5 separate regions of the Homo sapiens genome follow, and all the other regions are linked to region 3. The links are contacts of gene promoters, found by promoter capture Hi-C in blood cells and fetal thymus (Javierre and others, 2016). All regions are on one chromosome and are shown on one strand. The core of a region is centred on a gene start or on the middle of the fragment in contact, and the rest is flanking DNA. Distances in the headings are between cores, read along the strand shown. Region 1 has its middle 58 kb from the start of SLC4A10. Region 2 holds the start of TBR1 (T-box brain transcription factor 1). Region 3 holds the start of GCG (glucagon). Region 4 overlaps PSMD14-DT (PSMD14 divergent transcript). Region 5 has its middle 18 kb from the start of SLC4A10.

Evidence for each region. Contacts are between HindIII fragments. The CHiCAGO score rates a contact against its expected background, and 5 or more counts as called.
Region 1: a contact is called between a fragment that was not itself captured here and the fragment with the promoter of GCG in region 3, in 4 of 17 cell types (activated CD4 T cells, total CD8 T cells, naive CD4 T cells and 1 more). The highest score is 6.4, in activated CD4 T cells.
Region 2: a contact is called between the fragment with the promoter of TBR1 here and the fragment with the promoter of GCG in region 3, in 2 of 17 cell types (total CD4 T cells and M0 macrophages). The highest score is 5.7, in total CD4 T cells.
Region 4: a fragment that was not itself captured here is called in contact with the fragment with the promoter of GCG in region 3 in 1 of 17 cell types (megakaryocytes); the score reaches 5.2 in megakaryocytes.
Region 5: a fragment that was not itself captured here is called in contact with the fragment with the promoter of GCG in region 3 in 7 of 17 cell types (naive CD8 T cells, total CD4 T cells, fetal thymus and 4 more); the score reaches 7.3 in naive CD8 T cells.

Annotation. Positions count from the first base shown.
Region 1 is chr2:161,563,472-161,568,883 of GRCh38, forward strand. It overlaps the pseudogene MTNAP1P1. Among named protein-coding and RNA genes, the nearest start is that of SLC4A10, 58 kb to the right of the region's middle. The HindIII fragment of the contact is 2,220 bases long and covers 1,720-3,939 here.
Region 2 is chr2:161,412,652-161,418,021 of GRCh38, forward strand. TBR1 (T-box brain transcription factor 1) reads left to right here and starts at 3,646. Exons shown (of 6, transcript NM_006593.4): 1 at 3,646-4,451; 2 at 5,025-5,179. The coding sequence starts at 3,760. RefSeq lists enhancers at 1,861-2,010, 3,772-4,394 and silencers at 2,061-2,230, 2,301-2,350. The HindIII fragment of the contact is 4,993 bases long and covers 1,602-5,370 here.
Region 3 is chr2:162,149,030-162,154,074 of GRCh38, forward strand. It overlaps GCG (glucagon), which reads right to left and starts at 3,218. Exons shown (of 6, transcript NM_002054.5): 1 at 3,129-3,218; 2 at 58-158. The coding sequence starts at 149. All of the region lies in intron 1 of LOC101929532 (a long non-coding RNA gene), which reads left to right. RefSeq lists a promoter at 3,106-4,827. The HindIII fragment of the contact is 4,864 bases long and covers 1,709-5,045 here.
Region 4 is chr2:161,238,024-161,243,406 of GRCh38, forward strand. All of the region lies in intron 3 of PSMD14-DT (PSMD14 divergent transcript), which reads right to left. Among named protein-coding and RNA genes, the nearest start is that of LINC01806, 4.0 kb to the right of the region's middle. RefSeq lists enhancers at 361-917, 5,066-5,145, 5,166-5,275 and silencers at 749-1,118, 1,209-1,278. The HindIII fragment of the contact is 5,710 bases long and covers 1-5,383 here.
Region 5 is chr2:161,603,792-161,609,344 of GRCh38, forward strand. No RefSeq gene overlaps it. Among named protein-coding and RNA genes, the nearest start is that of SLC4A10, 18 kb to the right of the region's middle. The HindIII fragment of the contact is 919 bases long and covers 1,423-2,341 here.

The DNA of each region.
Region 1 (5,412 bases), core at 1,580-4,079, 590 kb before region 3:
ACATTTATTGATTTGGGAATGTTGAACCATCTTTGCATTCCTGGTATAAATCACTCTTGATCATGGTGTATTATCTTTTTGATATGCCGTTGTATTCAACTTGCTTGTATTTTGTTGAAGATTTTTGAATCTATATTAATCAGGGATATGGGTCTGTACTTTTCTTTTTTTGTTGTGTCCTTGTCTGCTTTTGGTATCAGGGTGATCCTGGCCTTATGGAATGAGTGAGGGAGAATTCCCTTCTCTTCAATTTTTTGGCATAGTTTTGGGAGAATTCATCTTTGTTTTTCTTTGTATGTTTGGTAGAATTTGGCTGCAAATTTATCTGGTCCTGGGATTTCTTTTGGCAGTTTTTTAAAATGACTTTGAAATGCCACTTAATGTTTTTCTGGCCTGTAAGGTTTCTTCAGAAAAGTCCACTGTTAGTCTGATGAGAGTTGTTTTTTTTTTTTTTTTAATAGATGACTAGGTGCTCTTCTCTAGTCAGTTTAAAAATTCTTTGTTTCACTTTGACTTTAGACATTCTTAATATAATATGCTATGGGAAGTCCTTTTTGTAATGTATTTGCCTAGGGATGGCTGGACCTTCTCTATTTGGATGTCAACTTTCTTGATAGACTTGGAAATTTTTCACTGATTATTTTCTAAAGTAGGTTTTCTAAATTTGATCTCTCTGCTCCCTTGGGAATAATGATAATACATAAGTTTGGTCACTTTGTGTAGTCCCAGATGTCTCAAAGCCTTTTTTAATTCTTTTATTTAGTTTTTTCCTTATTTTTGTCTGACTGGAATATTTCAAAAGACCTGTTTTCAAATTTACAAGAAAAAAACAAACAACCCCATTAAAAAGTGGGCAAAGGACATGAACAGACACTTCTCAAGAGATGACATTCATGTGGCCAACAAATATATTTTAAAAAGCTCAACATCACTGATGATTAGAGAAATGCAAATCAAACCCACAATGAGATACCATCTCATGCCAGTCAGAATGGTGATTATTAAAAAGTCAAGAAAGCGCAGATGCTGGTGAGGCTGTGGAGAAAAAGGAACACTTTTTCACTGTTGGTGGGAATGTAAGTTATTGTGGAAGATCTAGAAGCAGAAATAACATTTGATCCAGCAATCCCAATACTGGATATATACCCAAAGGAATATAAATCATTCTATTATAAAGATAAATGCATGCATGTGCTCATTGCAGCACTATTCACAATGCAAATATATGGAATCAACCCACATGCTCATCAATAATAGACTAAACAAAGAAAATGTGGCACATATACACCATGGAATACTATGCAGCCATAAAAAAGAAATGAGATCATGTCCTCTGCAGGGATATGGCTGGAAGCCATTATCCTCAGCAAACTAATACAGGAACAGAAAATCAAATACCACATGTTCTCACTTATAAGTGGGAGCTGAATGATAACAACACATGGACACATGGGGAGGAACAACACACACTGAGGCCTCTCAGAGGGTAAGGGGTGGGAGGAGAGAGCATCAGGAAGAATAGCTAATGGATGCTGGGCTTAATACCTAGGTTATAGGTTGATCTGTGCAGCAAACCACCATGGCACACATTTACCTATGTAACAGACTGCACATCCTGCATTGGTACCCTGGAACGTAAAATAAAAATTGAAGGAAAGAAAAAGATTTGTTTTCAAGTTCTGAGATTTTTTTCTTCTGCTTGATCTAGTCTATTATTGAAGCTTTCAAATGTATTTTGTATTTTCTTCAATGAATTTTTTACATCCACAATATCTGCATTTTTTTAAAAGATATCTATTTCCTTGGTAAATTTCTCATCCATATTCTGAACTTTTTTGTACTGTTTTTCATATTTCTCTTGCACCTCATTGAGCTTTGTTAAAATCAATATTTTGGTTTATTTATCTGGCATTTTGAGGCATTCTTTTTTATTTGGATCTGCTGCCATGCAATTGTTGTGTGGTGTCAAAAATCCCTACTTTTTCATGTTTCCTACGTCCTTCCATTGATATCTGTGCATCTGGTATAGCAGTCACCTTTTCATTTTTTTGTTCACATTAATAAAAAATTTACTTTCTATATAATTGTTACAGATTTCAATAATTTTATTCTTTTCACTCCCTCTTCTTGCTCTAAATGCCATTTTAAATTATTAACTATGTATTGAAGTCAGCTCCATTGTATGCCCCTTGTAGTTCCAAAGATTTCTTTTTCTTTCTTTTTTTTTCACTTATACTTTAAGTTCTAGGGTACATGTGCACAATGTGCAGGTTTGTTACATATGTACACATATGCCATGCTGGTGTGCTGCACCCATTAACTCGTCATTTACTTTAGGTATATCTCCTAATGTTATCCCTCCCCCTCCCCCCACCCCACGGCAGGCCCCGGTGTTTGAAGTGCCCCTTCCTGTGTCCAAGTGTTCTCATTGTTCAGTTCCCACCTATGAGTGAGAATGTGCGGTGTTTGGTTTTCTCTCCTTGTGATAGGTTGCTGAGAATGATGGTTTCCAGCTTCATCCATGTCCCTACAAAGGACATGACCTCATCATTTTTTATGGCTGCATAGTATTCCATGGTGTATATGTGCCACATTTTCTTAATCCAGTCTATCATTGTTGGACATTTGGGTTGGTTCCAAGTCCTTGCTATTGTGAATAGTGTCACGATAAACATACATGTGCATGTGTCTTTATAGCAGCATGATTTATAATCCTTTGGGTATATACCCAGTAATGGGATGGCTGGGTCAAATGGTATTTCTAGTTTTAGATCCTTGAGGAATCGCCACACTGATTTCCACAATGGTTGAACTAGTTTACAGTCCCACCAACAGTGTAAAAGTGTTCCTATTTCTCTACATCCTCTCCAGCACCTGTTGTTTCCTGACTTTTTAATGATTGCCATTCTAACTGATGTGAGATGGTATCTCACTGTGGTTTTGATTTTCATTTCTCTGATGGCCAGTGATGATGAGCATTTTTTCATGTGTCTGTTGGCTGCATAAATGTCTTCTTTTGAGAAGTGTCTGTTTATATCCTTCACCCACTTTTTGATGGGGTTGTTTGTTTTTTTCTTGTAAGTTTGTTTGAGTTCTTTGTAGATTGTGGATATTAGCCCTTTGTCAGATGGGTAGATTGCAAAAATTTTCTCCCATTCTGTAGGTTGCCTGTTCACTCTCATGATAGTTTCTTTTGCTGTGCAGAAGCTCTTTAGTTTAATTAGATCCCATTTGTCAATATTGGCTTTTGTTGCCATTGCTTTTGGTGTTTTAGACATGAAGTCTTTGCCCATGCCTATGTCCTGAATGGTATTGCCTAGGTTTTCTTCTAGGGTTTTTATGGTTTTAGGTCTAACATTTAAGTCTTTAATCCATCTTGAATTAATTTTTGTATAAGGAGTAAGGAAGGGATCCAGTTTCAGCTTTCTACATATGGCTAGCCAGTTTTCCCAACACCATTTATTAAATAGGGAATCCTTTCCCCATTTCTTGTTTTTGTCATGTTTGTCAAAGATCAGATGGTTGTAGATGTGTGGTATTAAAATCTAGAAGAAACGAATAAATTCCTGGACACATACACCCTCCCAAGACTAAACCAGGAAGAAGTTGAATCCCTGAATAGACCAATAACAGGCTCTGAAATTGAGGCAATAATTAATAGCCTACCAACCAAAAAAAGTCCAGGACCAGATGGATTTACACCCAAATTCTACCAGAGGTACAAGGAGGAGCTGGTACCATTCCTTCTGAAACTATTCCAATCAATACAAACAGAGGGAATCATCCCTAACTCATTTTGTGAGACCAACATCATCCTGATACCAAAGCCTGGCAGAGACACAACAAAAAAAGAGAATTTTAGACCAATATCCTTGATGAGCACTGATGCAAAAATCCTTAATAAAATACTGGAAAACCGAATCCAGCAGCACATCAAAAAGCTTATCCACCATGATCAAGTGGGCTTCATCCCTGTGATGCAAGGCTTGTTCAACATATGCAAATCAATAAATGTAATCCAGCAGATAAACAGAACCAAAGAAAAAAACCACATGATTATTTCAATAGATGCAGAAAAGGCCTTTGACAAAATCCAACAACCCTTCATGCTAAAAACTCTCAATAAACTAGGTATTGATGGAACGTATCTCAAAATAATAAGAGCTATTTATGACAAACCCACAGCCAATATCATACTGAATGGGCAAAATTGGAAGCATTCCCTTTGAAAACTGGCACAAGACTGGGATGCCCTCTCTCACCACTTGTATTTAACATAGTGTTGGAATTTCTGGCCAGGGAAATCAGGCAGGAGAAAGAAATAAAGTGTATTCAATTAGGAAAAGAGGAAGTCAGATTGTCCGTTTGCAGATGACATGATTGTATATTTAGAAAACCCCATCGTCTTAGCCCCAAATCTCCTTAAGCTGAGGAGCAACTTCAGCAAATCTTAGGATACAAAATTGATGTGCAAAAATCACAAGCATTCTTATACACCAGTAACAGAAAAACAGAGAGCCAAATCATGAGTGAACTCCCATTCACAATTGCTTCAAAGGGAATAAAATACCTAGGAATCCAACGTACAAGGGATGCGAAGGACCTCTTCAAGGAGAACTACAAACCACTGCTCAATGAAATAAAAGAGGACACAAACAAATGGAAGAACATTCCATGCTCATGGATAGGAAGAATCAATATCGTGAAAATGGCCATACTGCCCAAGGTAATTTATAGATTCTGTGCTGTCCCCATCAAGCTACCATTGACTTTCTTCACAGAATTGGAAAAAACTACTTTAAAGTTCATATGGAACCAAAAAAGAGCCCGCATTGCCAAGACAATCCTAAGCCAAAAGAACAAAGCTGGAGGCATCACGCTACCTGACTTCAAACTATACTACAAGTCTGCAGTAACCAAAACAGCATGATACTGGTACCACAACAGAGATATAGACCAATGGAACAGAACAGAGCCCAAAGATTTCTTAAGTGACGTCCAGGTCAACACTACTTACACCAGTACTGCAGCTTCAGATGCATGAAACTCCAGCTACAAAATAGGATGAAGTATCCTTTAAAGAGCACTGTGATACCACTGACTCTACTCTTCTTTATGGTGGTATTGCACTTAGTCCAGCCTTTTTGTACAGCTCCCAAGAGCTTCATTAGAGAGAATTTGGAGATTGTAAGTCTGATTGGGGGTTTCAAACTTCTTATATCAGTCGAATTTCTTTCCAACGAAGGAACTTGTGAAAGTCTTCCCTTCTGGGAACGGATAAGCTGTGGTTTCTGGGCCATTGCATTCTAACACTGAGGCTTTCCTGGGAACACCCCTAGTCCAAGATAAGCAGGAAACAACTCCAGCCCCATGGAGCTGAAAGGTCCTTTCTGCCAGCAGTTGTAGCATGAT
Region 2 (5,370 bases), core at 2,396-4,895, 740 kb before region 3:
TATTCTGAGCATTTCTTGCTTGTCCTGTGGTTTACTGTTTCAGATATAGTGACAGTATATTTTATGTAGGACATGTAATATGTATTAATTTAAGTTGTTGGGATTACATTTAACCATTTAAAATTCAAATATAAGTGGAAGTTAGTGAAATTTTCTTTTGCCTAATTCAAACTTGTGTGCAGGCTTTTTGGATATGATTTTTCCCTTTGCAAATAAGATTCTATAACTTATTTCACAGATGTTGTTAATGAGTGCTAGTCAATGATTTTTTGGGGGGTACAGTGCCCTCAGAAGAAGGCCTTAACATTTCAAGAACTATTCTCAATATTTGGGTTGAAAGGGTTTTTTTGTTTTTGTTTTTGTTTTCTACTTAGTCCTCTGAAAATATCCTGAGTCCTGTGACTGGAAAGGCTTACCTTGCCTGTTTTTTTGCCCTTATTTGATCACCCCATCTTCCTGGACTCCCTATAGCCACACACCACTTACTCTCACTTAGTTCATGTTGGTGACATTCCCAGTTTCAGAACCTTGTCAAAATCTTTGCTAGCAAAAACCTACATTACTTTTTGTAGATTTGGAGTCGATCAAAATCAAGATGCCCTAAGAGGCAAGGCTCAGTGAACACCTTTGTCTTGGAATGTACAGCTATTTTCGCAGCAGCCTGATGTCCCAGGCCCAGTTAGGCACTGAAAAGATGCATTTAATCACAAACTTAGTAAGCTGTTTAAGACTGTATATGTATGCGCGCACATGTGCACGCAATTACCCCTCCATCATGCAGAGGTAAAGCAGCTCTGGAAACAAAACTGTTTGTCTCTAGTGCAGAAATGTCCCTGCTTTTCTCTCAGACTAATACGGGGGCACTGAAAGCTCCGGCCTCACTATTCAAAGTGTCATCTGCCTGGACCAATAGCATCTGGGTCTTATGGAAATTCGTTATATATACAGAAAGCAAGCCCCACCCCAGGCCTATTGAATCATAATAAAGAATCCTGGTGTGGTTCATATACACTTTAAGGTTTGAGAAGCCCTGGCCTTCTTTTAGAAGTACGGTTCACAGGCACATGTGGTGATTCTGAGGAAAGCCTTCATTTTCCTTAGTATATATAAATTCAAGGCATACCCTATATGTGAGCAATCACTGAATTTGGTACTGATAATCCAAAGTGGGTCAGAGAGCACATCAATTCAATTCCTTAAAAACTCTGAAGGAGGTGCACTCTTTCCCTTTTCTATCCTTTAACACCTTAACATTTCAATTTAGCATAAAAAAAAAACAGTTTAGGGTGTCGAGAATGGCAAAGCCTCAAAAAGAGCCCAGGTGATGTCTCACCTCTACACATTTAAGGCTCTGTCCCACTGAGAACGGAGGAAAGTACTGTCTTCCGAAGCACCGGAGGGAGAGGCACTCAGGGACAGAGAAGTTGAAGATGGAGAAAGAAGGAAACAAAAGTAGCCAAAAGTAGTCAAGAGGTCAAAAGCCTCTCATGAGGGCAAATGGCAGTAGAAGGTCAAGGGCAGAAAAACAAGTGTCAAATGGCATCCCCTACTCCCCTCCCCCGCACCCCAACGATTCAACAGCTAAGACTGCTTGTTTATGAAGCTTCCTGGCCAGGAGCTGAGGTTTGCTTTCGAAAGGAAAAATGGGTCTGGCTCTCTTTTTATCCCAGAAAATTGTCTCGGCTTTAGTCTGGGACATCTGGTCAACAACCTGCCCTGCCCAGGCCGCCAGCGCAGGGCCTTGCCCGCGGCGCGTTGATGGAGGCCGCAGCTGGTGCCCTCTGCAGCCAAGGCGCTCAGCCCGCCTGGAGGGGCGCAGTCTCGGCTCAGCGCTGACCGCTCGGCCCACCGAGGCGCAGCTCTGAAAATGCACCACAGTGGCGAAGCGGCGAGTCTGGATAACCCGTCTCCGCCCATGCTCAGGACCCACCCAATGTCCCCAGGCGCTGCTCTCACTCCGGGAGCTGCCCCGGCCCGGGTAGGACAGACGCGCTCGCTCGAAGCCAGAGGCTCCCCCGGCTGAGGTGCCCAGGCCGCTCCTCCAGCCCGGGAAGAGCGTGTGCCCCTGGGGTCTGCGCCAGACGCAGCTCACCCCTTGCTCCTTCAGTCTCCCGGGCGGAGCCCGCCCTCGGGCCGGCCAGCTCTCGGGGCCGAGCGGAGCTCTGGGCGGCGCTCCTCCTGCTCATTCCCGCGCGGCTCGGCGTCCGGGAGGAAAGCCGCGGGAGGGCAGGTCAGCGAGCGCCGGGCCGCGGGAGGCAGCTTTGGGCAGATAAAAAGCCTCTGCCGCTCTTGGCCCTCTGGCTCAGGCCGAGGGCTGGGCTCCTCTGTAGAGCCGGTGCTGGGAGACTTCCTCCCTACACCTCGGGGTCTCTTCGGGCCTCGTGCTATTTATTTGTGCCAACATCTTTTTAAATTGGTTTTTTTCTATTCCTCTTTAGATTCTTTTTCCTTTTAAAAATTATTGGCATGGATGCTTTTTCTCCCCTCCAGATTATATAAACATTAAACACACACACGTACACACACACACACGTTTTCAGTAGCGATTACTGTGTTGACACCACTTCCACTCTGTCTCCCCAGATCAGCGCTTCTGACGAGCCCATTTGCACGGGGACTCGGCCCTCTCTTTTCCTGGCGAGGCTTTTGAACCTGTCGCCAAGCCAGTACCTCAGAGAGAAGGAAATGCAGAGGGACGAGAAGGATGCATGGCGCCTGCCCCCAGTTAGATGTTCTTCAGATAATCTGCAACCAAGTGCGCTGATAAAATATTTAATAAAGAGCCGGTAAACATCACTGCAAATACATTAAGGCATTTCAGCCCGACAGCTTATGATTATTTCAAAACTTAAAAAGGAGATCATAGATTGTCACTGTTTCTGTACTCAACCAAGAAACCGAACCTTCCTGAGGTGGGTGGATTGGTGGGTGAGTTGCTGCTTTTCGCCCCCTCTCCTCCCCCCTTCTGCTTGTCGCTGTGGCTCTCAGCAGCAGGGATTTATTTATTTATGTTTGCAGTTTAAAAGGTGGGGGTGGGGGCGCCGAGGACATGTAGGATCTGCTCACAAAGCACCAGCTCAGGTGTTGTGTGCTTTTGTATTAGCTGGAAAAGACAGACTCTGGAACTTTTACAGGGCGAGAAGAGGCCACCGGCTCGCGCTTTGTATACTTTGCACTTGAAATCGTTACATTCAACTGAATATTTGGCTCATTCAGATCCGAAAAGTCTCCTAGCATCGTCGAATTCCCTCCTCCGCCCCTCCGCTCTAAAGGGGGGAAGGGGGGGAAGGTAGGAAATGTTTAGTAAATTCCACATCTTTGAATCTTCCTAAAGCAGTGGTCACAGAGCTTAAAGGTGACACAACAGTGCTCACGTAAACCAACACACATTCCCCACCCCCCAAGCCAACAATAAAATCATCCCCTTCAATTTGCCATGATCGTCGCTACCAGGAGCCAGGTGATTATCCTAATTAATGTCTATCTAATTAAATTACTGTCAGCAGCTAACCAATGGCAGGAGCCGTTTCATCGGCTGCACAAGCAGCAAGATCAAAAGTGAGCCTTTTCTGATTGCTGCATAGTGTCAATTGGCCAATCTCTTCTCCCAGGGAAAAAAAAAAGTAAATCAAACCTTTGAGAAGCATTTGCTGGTTGAAGTGCTTTCTGTCTAGTGAGGGGGTCTGTGGATTTCTAGTTTATGATAAATAGGACTTTAAAAACCAGGGACGGGAGGGCGAGTGTTCAGGTTCTAGAGCTATGCAGCTGGAGCACTGCCTTTCTCCTTCTATCATGCTCTCCAAGAAATTTCTCAATGTGAGCAGCAGCTACCCACATTCAGGCGGATCCGAGCTTGTCTTGCACGATCATCCCATTATCTCGACCACTGACAACCTGGAGAGAAGTTCACCTTTGAAAAAAATTACCAGGGGGATGACGAATCAGTCAGATACAGACAATTTTCCTGACTCCAAGGACTCACCAGGGGACGTCCAGAGAAGTAAACTCTCTCCTGTCTTGGACGGGGTCTCTGAGCTTCGTCACAGTTTCGATGGCTCTGCTGCAGATCGCTACCTCCTCTCTCAGTCCAGCCAGCCACAGTCTGCGGCCACTGCTCCCAGTGCCATGTTCCCGTACCCCGGCCAGCACGGACCGGCGCACCCCGCCTTCTCCATCGGCAGCCCTAGCCGCTACATGGCCCACCACCCGGTCATCACCAACGGAGCCTACAACAGCCTCCTGTCCAACTCCTCGCCGCAGGGATACCCCACGGCCGGCTACCCCTACCCACAGCAGTACGGCCACTCCTACCAAGGAGCTCCGTTCTACCAGTTCTCCTCCACCCAGCCGGGGCTGGTGCCCGGCAAAGCACAGGTGTACCTGTGCAACAGGCCCCTTTGGCTGAAATTTCACCGGCACCAAACGGAGATGATCATCACCAAACAGGGAAGGTAATACTACATTTTTGGCTGCCGCTGCTCTAGGCGCAGCCGGGGACAAGTGCACCTAGGCTGTGACTGCCGCGGCAGCGACGATTTGGGGTCGGGAGCGGAGTGGAAGGCGCCCTAGAGTTGGCTAGTTTTGGAAAGGGGGAAAGTGGAAGGGATAACCGCCAGGGTGATGTTGGTGGGGGGGACCCCGTTCTAGGAACATAGTGGGAGAGCCAGTCAGTGGCCAGAGGAAGGCAAGAAAAAGGAAGAGCCCTGGCCAGCGGCTGGGCGATGGGAGGGACGCATCAACACTGGCATGCACGGACAGGTGGAGACGCAGGTCGCCAACCTCGCTCTCCACCTGGGCAGTGATAACTGCCACCTTCCCACTCCAGCTCACCCGCCGCTCTCCCTGATTTGGGTTGCACTTCTTTTCTTCTCCCACCACCCTTTTTCTAATCCAGCAAATATTCGCCTATTTGCTGCAAGTACAAGTTTTGCTTTGCTAACTGGCGCCCCGCTTCTTGCATTTAATCTTTAACATTTATGTTTCTTTTTTCCTTGTTTTCTCCCCCCACCCCTTAATTTAAATAGGCGCATGTTTCCTTTTTTAAGTTTTAACATTTCTGGTCTCGATCCCACGGCTCATTACAATATTTTTGTGGATGTGATTTTGGCGGATCCCAATCACTGGAGGTTTCAAGGAGGCAAATGGGTTCCTTGCGGCAAAGCGGACACCAATGTGCAAGGCAAGTCCTTCCAATTAACACATTTTCTTGACACTTATTTAGGTGAGAATGATTAATTAAAGCCTTTGTGGACTGGCTCGAGCGACTTTTAAAACGATCGGCCAATGACTTCTAAAAGGAAACGAGGGGGACAGGGGGACAGACTGAGCTGCGAGAAGGGGGAGGATTATGCAAAAGCTATTTTAATCACC
Region 3 (5,045 bases), core at 1,968-4,467:
TCACAGGCTTTATTCCAACCATATTGATATGTTAGTTCGAGACTACGGATTTAATACCTGGATTTCTCCTCTGTGTCTTGAAGGGAACGTTGCCAGCTGCCTTGTACCAGCATTACAAATAATCCAGCCACAAAGTAAATGCTTTTCATTTCTGCTGTCTGTCAGAACACAGAATGGGGGTAGGGTGAGGGGGGCAGGCAAGGATTTTTAAACATGTCAGGCTAAATTAATTAGATTTGACTAGATAAATATCATAAGTAGAAGGAAAAAGCTAGTGTTATCACTTTTATTCTGATTATATTTTCAGCTTAATTTTAAATAGTGGGTTATATTATTTCCCCAGATTTTTTGGAGGCAAAAAAGGACACAAAAGATGTGTTCCACCATTAAGCTTTTTCATTAATGTAGGGACACTTCTGTTTAATAATTAGAAGGCTCATTTCCAGACTGGAAATTAAAATGTCCACAATCAACATTTAAAATACCCACTGTAGATGATATGCTACATATGGTTAGCCTGAATGGCACCTTATCCATCATGCCACCCCCCTCACTATCAGTCTGGCTTTCAATTAATAGTCCTTCACTTCCAAGCATTTACATTATACTGCATTTCAACCATCTTAAAGCAGCCTCAGGCTACAACTTGGCATACCAGCTGTCGGTTCAGATGTATTATTCATTTATATTTTAAATAGTGTAACTTGGTCTAGACTTTGTAATTATAAAGCGGCCAACAGATTTGAGGTATTTTAGGGTGCTTTGACCTGTTCTAAATTAAAGGGAAAAAATCATTTTAAAGACAAGCAATTTGCAACAAGAACTAATGCTTCTGGCAACGTGAACAATCACAACTAAAAAACTAAGAGATTACTATGTAAAAAAAAATTAGAGCTTGCTTCTAAAGTCATAAAAGTCCCCAGGTTGTTTTCTAATTGGACTTAGATGAGGACATGTCATTCACTGCTGGTGACACCATAGACTTGGTTATAGGATACACCTGATTGCTTGTCCCTGTGTCACAAGCAGATGCCCTGCGAAGCCATAGTATGTTAAGGATGTGATGATGCAGTGTCGACGGGGACTGGGACCAACATGAATGTGGGACAGAATGTCCCCACAGAGCAAGCGCTTCTATTTTCTGAATGGGAACGTCAAGTCCGTCTTTGTCATGGATCTCGGCTACTTTGAAACCCAATGGTGTTTCCTTTGAGAAGCGGGCATTTCAATCCAAGTTTGACTATGCTTATCCACAAATAATTTGAATGAATATTTTTAGCAAATGACATTTGGTTTGGAATAAGGATTTCACAAATATTATCATTTTTAAACTATCAATCTTTTCCTTAATATATTAGCTGTATTTACTATCTCTGGCACTAAAACATAGACACTGTAATACCTGCAGCAGTAACTTTTTTCTTTGAAATATTAAGTTTTTTGTACATTGAATGGATGATTAGACAAAGGAACATAATAGGAATGATATATTCACCTTTCTTCATTCATCAACATCAAATTACCAATTTGACATTTTGCTATGCTTCAGTTTAACCGGTTGGCAGACTTTGGAAACCTTGCCATATATTTAGGTAGTATCTACTGATTATAACTCTCAATTGTTATATCCGTGCTTGCAGGAATATTTAAATATTAAAGTAAGCACTTCTTTTAAAAATTATACCACTGTTGAAAAGTTTCTTGTAAAAGCTTTTAGTCTTTCACAAGACTGAAAAAAAAATTCATTCCACCCAAAGTCCTAAGCGTTTTGCAATATCTCCTATTATGTTCCATTGAGGAGGATTTAGAGCAGGAGGTATCCTGCCACTTCAGGAGCTGATGGAAGAAAGAACAACCATAAACCACATAAAGAAGTGAGCGTTCCGTATCTAATAATATTACCAACAATAAATGACTTCTTCTGAAGAAAGAACTGGCTTTAAAAATCTCACTTATTTGTTTGTGAAAGTCTATCGAATTGTGAAAAAAAAAAGAATAGAGTTAATTGTTTGAATACAATTGCTGAGAAAGTAGAGATTTATGTTATTTTAGTATTAAAATCTTATTCAATAAGAAAATAATTTCCAGTTAATTTCCCCCCTCTTTAGGTAGTCTAAAGAGAGCCTGCAGTTTTGTAAGAACTACAAATTTCCACTAAAATTTAAAGGAAAGTATGGTAACAATAATAAGTAGGAAGTCTTACAGAAAGATTAACCTTAGACCTAAAAAAGAAGACATTATGTTCTATCCCCAAATGTGTTGGCATTGTAGTCCATATAAATCCTTTTTCAAACTGGTTAGCTCATTTTATGTAATAGGTCTTCAGTATGTATGGAAAAATACACCACTTAATCATTTACTCCATCAAAGATCTTTGTAAATTTGTTTTTTGTCTCTAGGAGCCTAATCTAAAAAGACAAATTAAAATTTTATTGCAGAGGGTAGCTATTTTAGATTTTATTACTATTTATCCTCAATACATAGTAAATAGTTATTAATGTATGGCTTCACTCAGATGCATCCAAAGAAAACCCCCCAAATAGATGACACTTGTTCTCTGCACCAAGTACGCTATGTTTTATTTACAAAGAGTTGCTTTAATGGACTTTGATTTTTTGATAGATGTCTGAAATTTGAATATTTGAAAGATGTTATTTAATTTGCTCTTTTGGAAAACCAGAGATTTTAATTGGTAAAAAGCAATTTCTGTTATAGGCTCCCTAATGGACACATTTCTGCTTACTTTAAAAGACGCCTTCTGTTCAAAGTAGTATACAGATCTATCAAGTCCAAGAAAAATATTTATTCTTCAAAATGTTACCAATTATTTTAAAATACAACTCTCATAACAGTTAAGTATTATAACAAGTGCATTGATTTGAATCTTTGTTTTTTTTCTGTTTTATATTTTTGCATATAATTATTTTTCCAACTCGCTTTGCGGCTTCGCTATATTAAAGTACACGTAAATGCATTTGATATAACCTTTTCCATCTCAGTTCCTCTCTGTGTACTATTAGTAATAAAGTCTAAGATGAAAGAACAACATTTTAATTTATAATATTTTGATCCCTTAAAAATACTTCACTGTCCGCCAAACAGGATTTACAATTTTATAATCATCTTACCTTCTGGTAGTGTGCTGTAGAACAGAGCAGGTGAAGAGAGAGCAAGCCCTCTTTGGGAACTTTTGATGTGCTCTGTGTCCTAAGCTCTGTACTTCTGCACCAAGGCGCACTGCTTTTATATACTCTCCAGCTCTGTTTAGCCTCACAGATATTACGCTGACAATATAAATTTCTCATCTGTAAATAATGAGTTTTTGTTACAAATGACTTCCCTCTCCCACTCACTTTGCTCATCTGCATTCTATGCTTATATTGGGTGAGAGACCTTAGAGACCTGGAAACTTTTTATGCACTCTTGTATCTTTTTTTTTTTTTTTTGGTTGGGAATGGAGAGAGCAGCTTGGAAATCCACCTTCTACTTTCAATCACGCATGAAAATCACTTAAGTTCTCTAAAGTGAATTTTGACGTTGAAGACAAAAGACCTTGAAATTACGTAGCCCATGGCCATCCCTGTTTTGTGCATGTCCTCATTTGAGGTTCTTACAAGTCTTTGGTTTGCTACCTAGCCATGATGAATTTACCTGAATATAACAATCACTTCAGTCATTCATTTATCTAAATAATGATCATTCATTCAACACATATGTATTAAAAATCCTCTCTTCCTCACAACGTGGAGTTTATTTATGTTATGTTTGTGGAAAATTTAAGGATATTGATTAAACCCCTATGTGTTCTGTTTTAATAAATGGAATTCAGGCAGAAAGGATGGAGCAAAATGAAGATTAAACATCCAAGATAGCTGATGCTAACAGGAAATTATCTGGTATTTTTTTCCTTCTAATATATATTTAAAATCTAATTTTACTGATAAGAGAGTGGGGTACTAAGTTACAAAAGAATGAGATATGAGGAAAACTGTTGAGATGAGATGCATATTTTCACGTTTCCTGAGTTTTGTGACTGGACACACAGGCTTTAATGATCTGTGACATTTAGCAGAAATGATTCTGGTCACTGTAGAGAAATAGAAAAATGGTAAATAATCTGGAAAGACAGCATAAGAAGTAGTGTTGGCATAATTTGATTTTAGTTTTGCTGTTATTGACCAGCTGTGTGACCTTGGTCAAGTCACGCATTCTCTTTGTGTCTCTGCCTCCTTATTTGTAAAATGAGAGGGGTTGGTAAATGTCTTTTCTAAAATAAAAATTTTATTCCATATTGCAAACTCATCACAACATTTCCTAACTAGATTCCAATATTCTAATATAACCAACCGCATGATGTCACTGATGACTTGTATGGAGGTAAATCATTGAGGCAACTGGAGAAATATTCCAAATGAACTTAACTGTTCAATTTGTGCATGAGACCAACGTTTGAATGTAGAGCTACTTGAAGGCCACAGAGATCACTTTCAAGTCAGACTGGAAGACATCATTGAGGGGTTTTTGTGCTGGTGATTATTGGGTGCTAGAAAGCCTTGCTTTGCAAAGTGTGGTCTAAGGACCAGCATCATCTGGGAGCTTGCTAGAAATGCAGAATCTCGTGCCTATCAGAATCTGTATTTTAACAAAATCCTAAGGAAATCTGTGTTCATATTAAAATTTGAGAAGCACAGCTGCATAAAATATCTGCCTCACTTTATCTCCTCATTGGTACTGCTGGTGTCTTGATCTGAGACCTGCTTCTTGGCACTCTACCAGCAGAGGGGGTGAAAGAGCAGAGAAAGGTGTCAAGCCTTAGGTCGGTCTAGAGAGTAATACTTATAAATACGGTAATAGCTTGAAAGAGTGGATTGATTTAATGTATGATTACATTGTCTTTCTCTCTGGCTACAATCTTCACACAACTATTCGCTATATTTTTAATCGTTTTGGCAGATTCAGTTCTACTTTTCCCATTGTCTATTTGTCTATTTGAGCAGATGTTTCTTTCTGTCTCTCTGTCTCTGTCTCTCTCTTTCCTTTTCAGA
Region 4 (5,383 bases), core at 1,441-3,940, 910 kb before region 3:
TTCCCCGAGTCGGGCCGTGCTTCGGCGGTTCGGCTGGGCGCAGGGGCCGGCCGGGCGCGCCCAGCCTGTGGCGCCTCCTCTCCCGGGCTGCTGCCTCGACAGCTGCTTGTAGCTACAGTAATTAGACTGTCAGTGCTTGTTAGAGGAGAGAGGGGAAAACACGCTTCTGACAGCAGATTCCAAGACTCCCCAGTTTGTTAATTTCTAAGAGATCTTTAAAGCATTAATTGAGGTCTCCCCAACTCTCCCCTCCCGTCCCTCTCTGCAACTCCTCCCTTCCCAAAAATATCTTTAGGAGAAGCGAGTTCTCTCGGCGTGGAAGCAGTGTTTCCCGCAAAACTGCCAGCCCGCCCCCCGCTCACGCACAGACACCCAATTTCCCATATACAGATAAATGCACACATGTATACGCGAAAGGTTAACTCGGCGGAGGACTCGCCCAAATAAGCACCGGGATTGCATTTAAAATAATAATAATAAATAAATAAATAAACTAGGAAGGAAAGCGGGGGGAGGGAAGCAGAAGTCGGGAAGAAAAGAGAAAAGCAGCAGGCTGATTACGAGGTGTCAAAACTGCCAGGAGCAAGAAGGTGATAGCAATCAGGGGTGAGAAGAGTGCGGCATTCGTGCGGGGCAACTAATTATCCGTCTCATTTGAGAAGAGCAGCATTTGAGGCAGCAGCGTTCGCCTGCTGAACGGTGACAGATTGGCGCGGAGGAGAGGGGAGGTGTTAAAACAATGGAGCCGGGCGCGCGAGCGCTGCTGCATGCTAATCAGCCCTCCCTCCGCCTGCCTGCCGCGCTCCCTCCTTCCTCCCGGCCTCCCTCCTCCGCGCTCCCTCCTCCCGCCTGCGGCGCTCCCTCCTTTCCAGCGGGCCCCGCGCCGCCGCCGCCACCCGCTTCCTGCTCCCTCGCTTTCCCGCGCGTCCTTCCCGCCGCTGGCGAGTGGAACCCAGCCACCGCCACCGAGTCCCTAGCGGGCCAGGAGCCCCCGCGCGGCCCCCAGCGCCGGCCCGGTGGAGTGCAGCCCCGCGCGGGCTCGCCCGAGGGCTCGGCCTGCGCCGCGCGCCCACTCCCCGGGGCGGTGGGGCGAGGACCCGCGCTCCGGGATCCACGTACTGGGGAAGCGGCCGAAGAGCCTGCGTTCTCACGCCCACTCGCTGTCTGGTGAATCGACCGCGTCGGCCAGCGAGCGCGACTGGGAGTCCAGGCGAATTCAGAAAGGGCTAGGGCCAGCCAGGGGTGAAAAGAGTGACAGGGCCACAAAGGCCAAGAAGGGCTCCAGGACTGAGCGCAGATCTCCTGCCCTGCCCGAGCGTGGCCGCCACCCCGAGGCCTCCAGCCGCCCCCAACCCGCCCTGCAGTGGCCGCGCCCCGCTGGCCTGCGGCGAGTCGGCGAGGTCAGCGCCCCCCGCCACGCCTCGCGCGCTGCGGCTCTTAGACCCCTGGAGCCCCTTTTTTGCCAGAGCTACCGGTCCACGGTTTAAATGATCGCAGCGAAGATACATAAAGGGCCTTAGCATTAGCTGTGCTTCCAAGGCCTGACCTCCTGACCCCAAGACTAGATTAAGGGGCCGTCTGGGCCTCGAGAGTTCCCTCGAAAGACCGTCGCGGGGAGAGAAGGGCCTGGAAAGAAGCGGGCCGCGCTCCCCCCTGCCGCGAAGACTGTGGGGCAGATGGGGGCAGGACCTGATCTGGAGGCCCAGCTCCCCGCCTGGCCGCTCTGTTCTATACTCTGGCCCGAGACAAGCTAGTCAAAAACAGCAGCGCCCTGGCCGCCCCTCCGACAAAGAGCCCATCGGAACCCGAGTCTGCTGAAAAAAGCCTTTCATACCTGTTGATGCAGGCGGGGACCTGAGATTTCATACAACCTCCTGTTACTTTTTGACCGTAAAAGCTGATTGTTGCACTTAAAAGGCACTTTTATTCCTACCATTAAAATATTTTTACTGTTACGGGTTTACATAAACTACCCTTATAAACATCATAAAACTTCCTTCCCCGTAAGCCATAGATGGACCTCCAGAGTAACTAAAAACCTGTGCAGTGTAATTGTTTCTTCTGCTGACCCCTACCTTTGCATAACTTTATACACACCATTGTTCCTTTTTAAAAAATCAATTTAAAATAAGGTTTGCTAAAGCTCAGTCATATATACACAAAGGTTTCATTTATATTATTCTGCTTTGTAATATTTCATGATAAAAGTACACAAAAATGAAATTAAAATGAGTAAATTTTGGTATTTTTATACCATCCTCATTGATCCTAGTCATGTGAAAAACTACACAAGTGCAGAGTGAATCATTTTTCCTTTTAGAATATGCCCAGGCATACCAATAGAATAGCTGAATGCAAACTTCAGATCTACTAAAATCATACAGAACGTTTTAAAGTTTTTAAGTTGAAAAATCTTAGAAGAGTTACATAAAGGATTTTGTGTAAGTAAATGTTAATGCTTTCTGCTTTCCACTCTTTGGAAAACCACTAAGCAGGCCTCTGCCCTTGGCATATACAGACTTCTTGATGCTACAGTATTAGCTGGCATTTGGAAAATTCCCTTGTGTCTGAATCTGTTAAAATAGCAACCTATCTAACAGCAAAACAAATTTTAACTTTATATTTATTCATGTAAACGTGGAGATTCAGATGTTCCATCAGCATCAAAATTAAGCAATTTATTAACTATTCACCAGCCTTTGCTTCATTAACCAATTCTGTAGAAGCAATGTCTCTCTAAAGCTGTGAATCTACAGAGCTCAAACAAATTTAGTTCAATCCCATGTTGTTATGTATCTCACCAAATTATTTATCTTCCAATAACTTGGTTTATACAGGCTTAGTGTAATTTCCTCTCAGTATACAGACCTCACAAATTTGCATGACTGTTTTAACGGTGTATTTACAGATAAGTTTTTATTTGCACATAAGGACAAAAAGGTGAAGTGAAATTTGGTCCCAATGGAAACCTGTTAGGTTCCCTGAACATATGGCTCATTGGGCTGTTACTTCCTTTTTGAGATCATTTTCCAAGATTTTTTAATATATACATCAATTTGACACCAGTTATAAAGAAAATATATTGGCTTTGAAGATTCCTCCACCTGGGGCATATCTCTTAATAACACACCATGTAGTCAGGTGTACCTCTGAATATACAGGTTTCCAGTCTCTGAAAACGGCATATTTTGAAATCAGTCAGAGCTGCCAGTTGATTTACACTGTCTTTGAAATTAAGTAGTTCTTTGGATTCTTAGAATGCCACATTGATTTGATTAATACAGTTTAGGGGTGACTAAAACTCTTTTTTGGAAGGCTGTGCATTTGGAATCCACAGTATTACAATGATTTCTCTCAGCAGATACAAGTGATGTAAGTCTCATTTGTTGAAAGTGTGTGGTGCCAGCTTAAGACTTAAGGGGAAAATCACAGCACTTTGAAAAAGATGTAAATGTTCAATTGGTAAAAAAGGGGAAAAAACCGTGCTAAAACATGTGCCTATTTCCATTATGCTTAATTTACTATTCAAAACAAGTTTTTCCTAATAAGCTCTATTGTTTCTTTCTGTTTTGTAAAATTTAATATGTGTGAGACAAAAACCAGATTCAGAATGTGAATGAAGTCTGTTTAGCGAAAGATTGTGGGAGCTTACAGTTCAAGAAGGCCTCAAATTAAAAGAAACATCATCTTCTATCACCAAAAAGATACAAAGAAGCAAGTTTCTTGGGTCATTTCTAGGACCAGTTCCTAGATTGCCAACTTCCTCCATCCTCAGAGCTCCTCATGGATGAATTCACACACTTTAAAGTGCACCAAGCACTAGAATATTCAGAATGATTATGCCACGTTTATTTACTGCATAGCTGTAGCTTTCATCTTATTGTAGTCCTCTTTTCTCTGAAGCATCAATCCCCTAATAGGACTGAAGTAAGTTCTCAAACATGTTATCCCCTTGTCCTGACTATAGAGGGTTATGTCTATCTCAAAATCACTCACACATTTTCAGAGAATCTGTACCTGATTATGCAACCCTTTGACGTTTAACCCATCTCCCATGGTTGAATGTCCCCTTGGAATCCAGAAGGCCTGGATATCCTGGCACTTGCCCATGTGTCCTTTGTTGTTTAGGGCTATACCATGAATACATTCAAAAACTATCTTGTTAATATCCTTTGGAAGGACTGTAAAAATAATGACTTTTCACTTTAAAATAATTCAAGGAATAGTTGTTTTTAAAAGAAAATGTTAAAGACTGCCTAATTCAACTTTCTTTTTGTGTGGACAAAACAAACAATAAAGAAACAAACAAAAAAACCCCACTGTATCTAAAGAGAATAAATGAGTCCCTCACACCTACTCAAATAGTTGGAACTCAACTCAAGCTCTCCTGTCTTTTTCAAACTATTGTTTTTTCCATAACCAGCCCTTACCTCAAATAAAATACAGTGTTTCACTGACTTTGTACTTTGTTTCAGAGGAAGCCTAAGTCCTATCCAAAGTCTTTTTACACAAAAGAATAAACCACAGAGAGAGTAGGGGGCCTGACATTACCTGACACTGGAGTGGGGTTTATTATTTAAAGTTGTCGGCCAGGTGAGGTGGCTCACGCCTGTAATCCAAGCACTTTGGGAGGCCGAGGCAGGCAGATCACCTGAGGTCAGGAGTTCGAAACCAGCCTGGCCAACATGGTGAAACCCCATCTCCACTAAAAATACAAAAATTAGCTGGGCGTGGTGGTGCATGCTTGTAGTCTCAACTACTCTGGAGGCCGAGGCAGGAGAATCGCTTGAACCTGGGAGGCAGAGGTTGCAGTGAGCCGAGATCGCACCACTGCACTCCAGCCTAGGGGACAGAGCCAGACTCCATCTTAATCAATCAATCTATCAATCAATCAATGTTGTCAGTTTATCACCACTCTAACAAGGGCCCCAGTCCATTTCTGCTTGGAAAAGAGGCACCTTAACCCACTGGGTGTTGAGCATCTCTCTGGCCTGCTCCAATGAGGGAAGAGCAAGTCATGGAACATATTTTTGTAGACACAAACTAACATGAGAGAAGATAAAAAATGATTTGTACCTCTAGAGTATGGAGTTAAACCATACCATAACTGCCAAACCACAGTGCTAAGTTTTTTAACAGTCTGAATTCTAGGTTAGAGTTTGTCTGGGGGAAACAAAATAGCTAACCAGCACGAACTGGAAGTGAGCTTATGTATTTTCTAAAACTATTGATCTGGAACTAAAACATTATCTAAACCAACCAAATACTTCATTTGGTTCCAGACCTGGCCTTCACTGTCTGGAGATGGCTGTGCAGCTCAGAAGGAAGTCTCGGCCTTATATTATCTTCCCCTGAGAGTATTGGTGAATCAACTCTGAAAACA
Region 5 (5,553 bases), core at 632-3,131, 550 kb before region 3:
GAATTTTACCTCAATAGAGTTTTCTGATTATAAGATGCCTGAACTTCTTATTAAATTTATTGGGATGAATTGGCTACTTCTTCCTCTTTGTCGTAATCTTTAAATTTTGCTTTAAAAAATTGTGATTTGCATAGTAAATAGTTTCTGGGTCTCACTAAATGAGATTAAGCAAATATGCTCTATACTATTATATAAGCTGTAGTCAAATAAAAAACCCTTATAATACATTATGCTGAATTATAAATACGATTATTTCATTAGGTCTGAGTTGCCTATTCATTTATTTTATGTTAAAGGGGAACATACATTTAAAATGTTATTCCTAAAGCAATACTTGGGGTTATAACATTTAATTTCTCACAATTTAGTAGTGTACTGATCCATGTGCTTTCATATTAACTATTTAAGAGTTGCTTAATGAATATTGTACTTAAGTGAAAAATTAAAATATTTTTAATGTTTTTAACAGTAAGTGAATTTACTGTGTAAAATGCTGAACACTGCACATAACATTCAAAGTATAGTTTATATGTTATCACAAATTTGTGCTGAAAAGTAGAAATATGTAAACACTTAAAGTCATTAAATCTTACTGGAACCCAAGTTTTTCCCAGAGAGTTATTACATATTAAAGTGTAAAGTAAACCAAAAATAAAATCTTATAATCAGATTAAAATGTTTTTCAGTTGATATTTTCCCTTAGCTTTTGTTAATTGACACATATAATAATTTCAAGAGATGATAGTAAATATATAGGGTATACATGGCACATGCAGAAATCTGTACATTTCTCTAGCGTATACTAATGTATCTATTTGAGATTTAGCTAAAACAACTGAGATGAGTGCTAACAAAAATTGGGTTATTTAAACCAGGTTGTAGAGAGTACAGTTGGTTTTCAAACTGTGTTAGACAGAAAATGATTGTTGACTCCAGCTCAGTGTTCTTGAATACTTGTTTCTAGTCTTAATATAAATGTAATTTGTGTATATATACATAATGCTAAAATGACTTCATTTTTTTATGGATCTTAGGGTACAAGTTTCAGAGTATTCATTTGGGCTTAAGCAGCAGGGAGCAGAACAGAATTGAGACTGAGATAAGTTAGCATTTGGGTATACTAGATAATCTGTCTGGAGGCAGATAATTGGACTTTTTGAGTCAGATATGAATTGTGACTCCAGGTGAAGAAGTGAATCTGAAACCAGGCAGGCAGGCAGAATTCAGGTTTATAGATAAACCAATTGAACATTAGGGGAAGGCAGAAGACCAGAAACCAGGCAGACAAGTTAGCAGAACAAGACAATGAAGTACTATTAAGGCAGACACTTTAATCTAGACAGGTAATTCATAGGAACCGAAAAGGCAATAGCTGACTTTCATTTTGAAGCATGCTCTTGATAAAAGGTGATGATTTTCATAAGCTTCCCATTAAACCAAAAGCCAGTCTCAAGTTTTGGTTTTTGTAATACTTGCTGGTATTAATAGAAGTAGAAAATAATGACTCAGCCTAGCAGGAATAGGGAAGGTGCCCACAGCATATAAGGCCACATTCTAAATACTATTGGGAATATATATTCTTTTGCTTTTTAATTGCTTTATTGCCTGGGTGGATTTAAAAATTCATATTTCTGAAGTTTGTCTGAGACAGAAGTTGAAGATTTTTGACAGTTCACAAAATCAATAATTCTTTATTAATTATATATTTTATTATTTCATCCCAGAAAGGAGCTACATTCTTAAAAGATAACTCTTAGAAAACCATATGAGTGGCTTTCAAATTTGTATTTATCTGTCAGCCATTCTTCTAATAATTTAACTGTCATTCGGCATATATTTATTACTCGTCTGCTATGTGCTGGGCATATTTTAGGAATAAAAAAGCAGGAATAAGGGAGGAAATTGTATGTAACAGATTAACAAGATACTTTATAATAAATGTGTAATTTATATAGAGGAGTATACCTCAACCATCTTTCTATTTTTTTTCTATTTGACGCATTCGTTGCCTTTTTCCTGTATTCTTTTGGATTGTGTAATTTTTATGATGACATTTTATCTATTTTATTGACTTTTAAACTGTGTTTTTTGTTTTGTTTTTAGTGTTTGCTTAAGCATTTACAAATTATATTTTAACATGCCACAGTCTACTTTCTAATATTTTTTTTTCACTTGACATATTGGATAAGAACCTGCAATGGTATACTTCCATTTCCTTTTATTCTCTTTTGTGGTAGTTTTGTCATATATTTATTACTGCCTATGTTATAAACTCCATATGACACTGATAATATTTTTGCTTTAAACAGTTACCTGTTAAGAGTTTTTAAAGATAAGAAAAAGCTTGTTTTACACATACCGCATATTGACCATTTCCAGTACTTCAATTCTTTGTGTAGATCTACTTTTCCATGTGATATCTTTCTTTCTTTTTGAGTAGCTCCCTTTAACTTAATTTCTTGTACTGATGGTCATTTAATAACCTCCTTAAAGTTTTGTATTTTGTCAGATGTATTTTATATTTGTCTTTGCTTTTTATTGAACAGTTTTATTGAGGTATAATTTGCATCCATAAATTTACCACTTTTAAGAATACAATTCAATGATTTTTAGTGTATTTAAAGGGCTGCGCAACCACCACCACATTCTTACTTTAGAAAGTCTCCATCACCCTGAAGAGAAACTTCATTTTCATTTGTGGTCATTCCCACCCTGTCTTAGGCAATCACTTATCTACTTTTTGTCTCTAGATTTGAATTTACTGGATGTTTTGTATAAGTAGAATCATACCGCATGTGGTCTTTTGTATGTGACTTCTTTCACTTAGCATAATGTTTCTGAGGTTCATTCATGTTGTACTGTGTATCAGTACTTCATTTTTTATTATAAAAAAGTATTACATTGTAATACCCCTTTTTGTTTATAATTTTTCAGTTGCTGTCTGGCATTTGTGTTGTTTCCACTTTTTGCCTACTATGACTTGTGCTACTATTAATATTTGGATACCGTTCTTTGTGTGGATAGATGTTTTCACTTTGGGGGAAATACCTAATTGTCTTACCTAGGTTGGTAAAATTCTGGATATACATCTTGGAGTGAAATTGCTGGGTTATATGGTAAATTTATGTTTAACATTTTAAGAAATTGCCAAACTTTTTCAAGGTGTCTGCACCATTTTACAGTCCCAATAGCAACATATAGTGCTCCAATTTCTCCACAGCCTTCCAACTGTTATTATCAGTCTTTCTGATTATAGCCATTCTAGAGAATGTGAACTGGTATGTCACTGTGGTTTTGATTTGCACTTTCCTAATGACTAGGGATGTTGGACATCTTTTAATGTGCTTACTGGCTATTAACATATCTTTTCTGGGGGGAATATATCGATTCAAATATTTTGTCCTTTCTTATTGAGTTTTAGGAGTTCTTTATAGATTATAGATGAGTCCCTTATAAGATCTATAATTTGCAAATGTTTTCTGTCTGTCTAGATCATGTCTTTTTATTTGCTTGATAGTGTCTTTTGGAACACAAAAAGTCTACATTATTTTTTTCTTTTATTATTTGTTCTTTTGGTGTCCTATCTAAAAATCGTTGCTTAACCAAAAGTCATGAAGATTTGCCCTTATGTTTTCTTCTAAGAAGTTTTGTGGTTTCAGTTCTTACACACAGGTCCATGATTTATTTTTCATTAATTTTCGTGTATGGCATAAGGCAAGGGTTCAAATTAGTCCTTTTGCATGTAGATATCTAATTGTTTTAGAATGAGTTGTTGAAAAGACCCTGTCTTCCCCATTGAACTGTCTTGCACCTTTTAAGAAGTATGTTTCGTATATAATATGAAAGTTAACTTTATTCCTGGACTTTCAATTCTATTTTATCTATCTATCTATCTATCTATCTATCTATCTATCTATCTATCTATCTATCTATCTTCCTATGCCAGTACCACATTATCTTGATTATTGTAGCTTTAGAGTGAGCTTTGAGATTAAGATGTGTAAGTACCCCAAACTACTTGTTTTATTTTAGATATTCTGTTTTAGATATTCTGTTTCCTTTGAATTTTCATATGAATTTTAGGTTTGCCTTGTCAATTTCTGCCAAAAAAAAGCCTCCTGGGAGTTTGATAGAAATTGCCTTAAAATTTCTATCTAAAAGAAGTCAATTAGATTTATTGCCTTAGATTTATAAGATGTAATATTACCATCTTAACAAGAAGATATCTTAACAAAGTCTTCTGATTCATGAACATGGAATGTCTCTTCCTTTATTTAGATATTCTTTAATTTTTTTTTAACTTGTAAGTTCAGAGGTACAAGTGCAGGTTTGTTACATAGGTAAACTTGTGTCATGGGGGTTTGTTGTATAGATTATTTCATTACCCAGGTATTAAGCCAAATACCCATTACTTATTTTTGCTGATCCTCTCCCTCTTTCCCACTCTCCAACCTCTGAAAGGCCCCAGTTTGTGTTGTTCCCCTCTCTGTGTCCATGTGTTCTCATCATTTAGCTTCCACTTCTAAATGAGAACATGCAGTATTTGGTTTTCTGTTCCTGCATTTGTTTGCTAAGGATAATGGACTCCAGCTCCATCCATGTCCCTGCAAAGGACATGATCTCATTCTTTTTTATGGTTGCATAGTATTCCATGGTGCATATGTACCACATTTTCTTTATCCAGTCTACCACTGATGGACATTTAGGTGGATTACATGTTTTTGCTATTGTGAATAGTTCTGCAGTGAACATATGCATACAAGTGTCTTTATAATAGAATGATTTCTATTCCTTCGGGTATATACTCAGTAATGGGATTGCTGGGTTGAATGGTATTTCTGTCTTTAGGTTTTTGAGGAGTCACCACACTGTCTTCTACAATGGCTGAACTAATTTACACTCCCACCAACAGTGTATAAGGTTTCCTTTTTCTCCAAAACCTCACCAGCGCCTGTTATTCTTTTACTCTTTAATAATAGTCATTCTGACTGGTGTGAGATCCTATCTAATTGTGGTTTTGGTTTGCATTTCTGTAATGGTCAGTGATGTTGAACTTTTTTTCATATGATTGTTGGCCACATGTATGTCTTCTTTTGAGAAGTGTCTGTTCATGTCCTTTGCCCACTTTTTAATGTTTTTTTTTTTTCCCTTGTAAATTTAAGTTCCTTATGGGTGCTGGATACTAGACCTTTGTTAGATGTGGAGTTTGCAAAATTTTTCTCCCATTCTGTAAGTTGTCTTTTTACTCTGTTGATAGTTTCTTTTGCTGTGCAGAAGCTCTCTGCTTTAATTAGATTCCATTTGTCAAGTTTTGCTTTTGTTGCATTCTGTAGGTTGTCTTTTTACTCTGCTGATAGTTTCTTTTGCTGTGAAGAAGCTCTTCAGTTTAATTAGATACTATTTGCCATTTTTTGCTTTTGTCACAATTGCTTTTGGTGTCTTTGTCATGAAATATTTGCCCTTTCCTATGTCCAGAATGATATTACCTAGGTTGTCTTCCATGGTTTTTATAGTTTTGAGTTTTACATTTAAGTCTTTAATCCATCTTGAGTT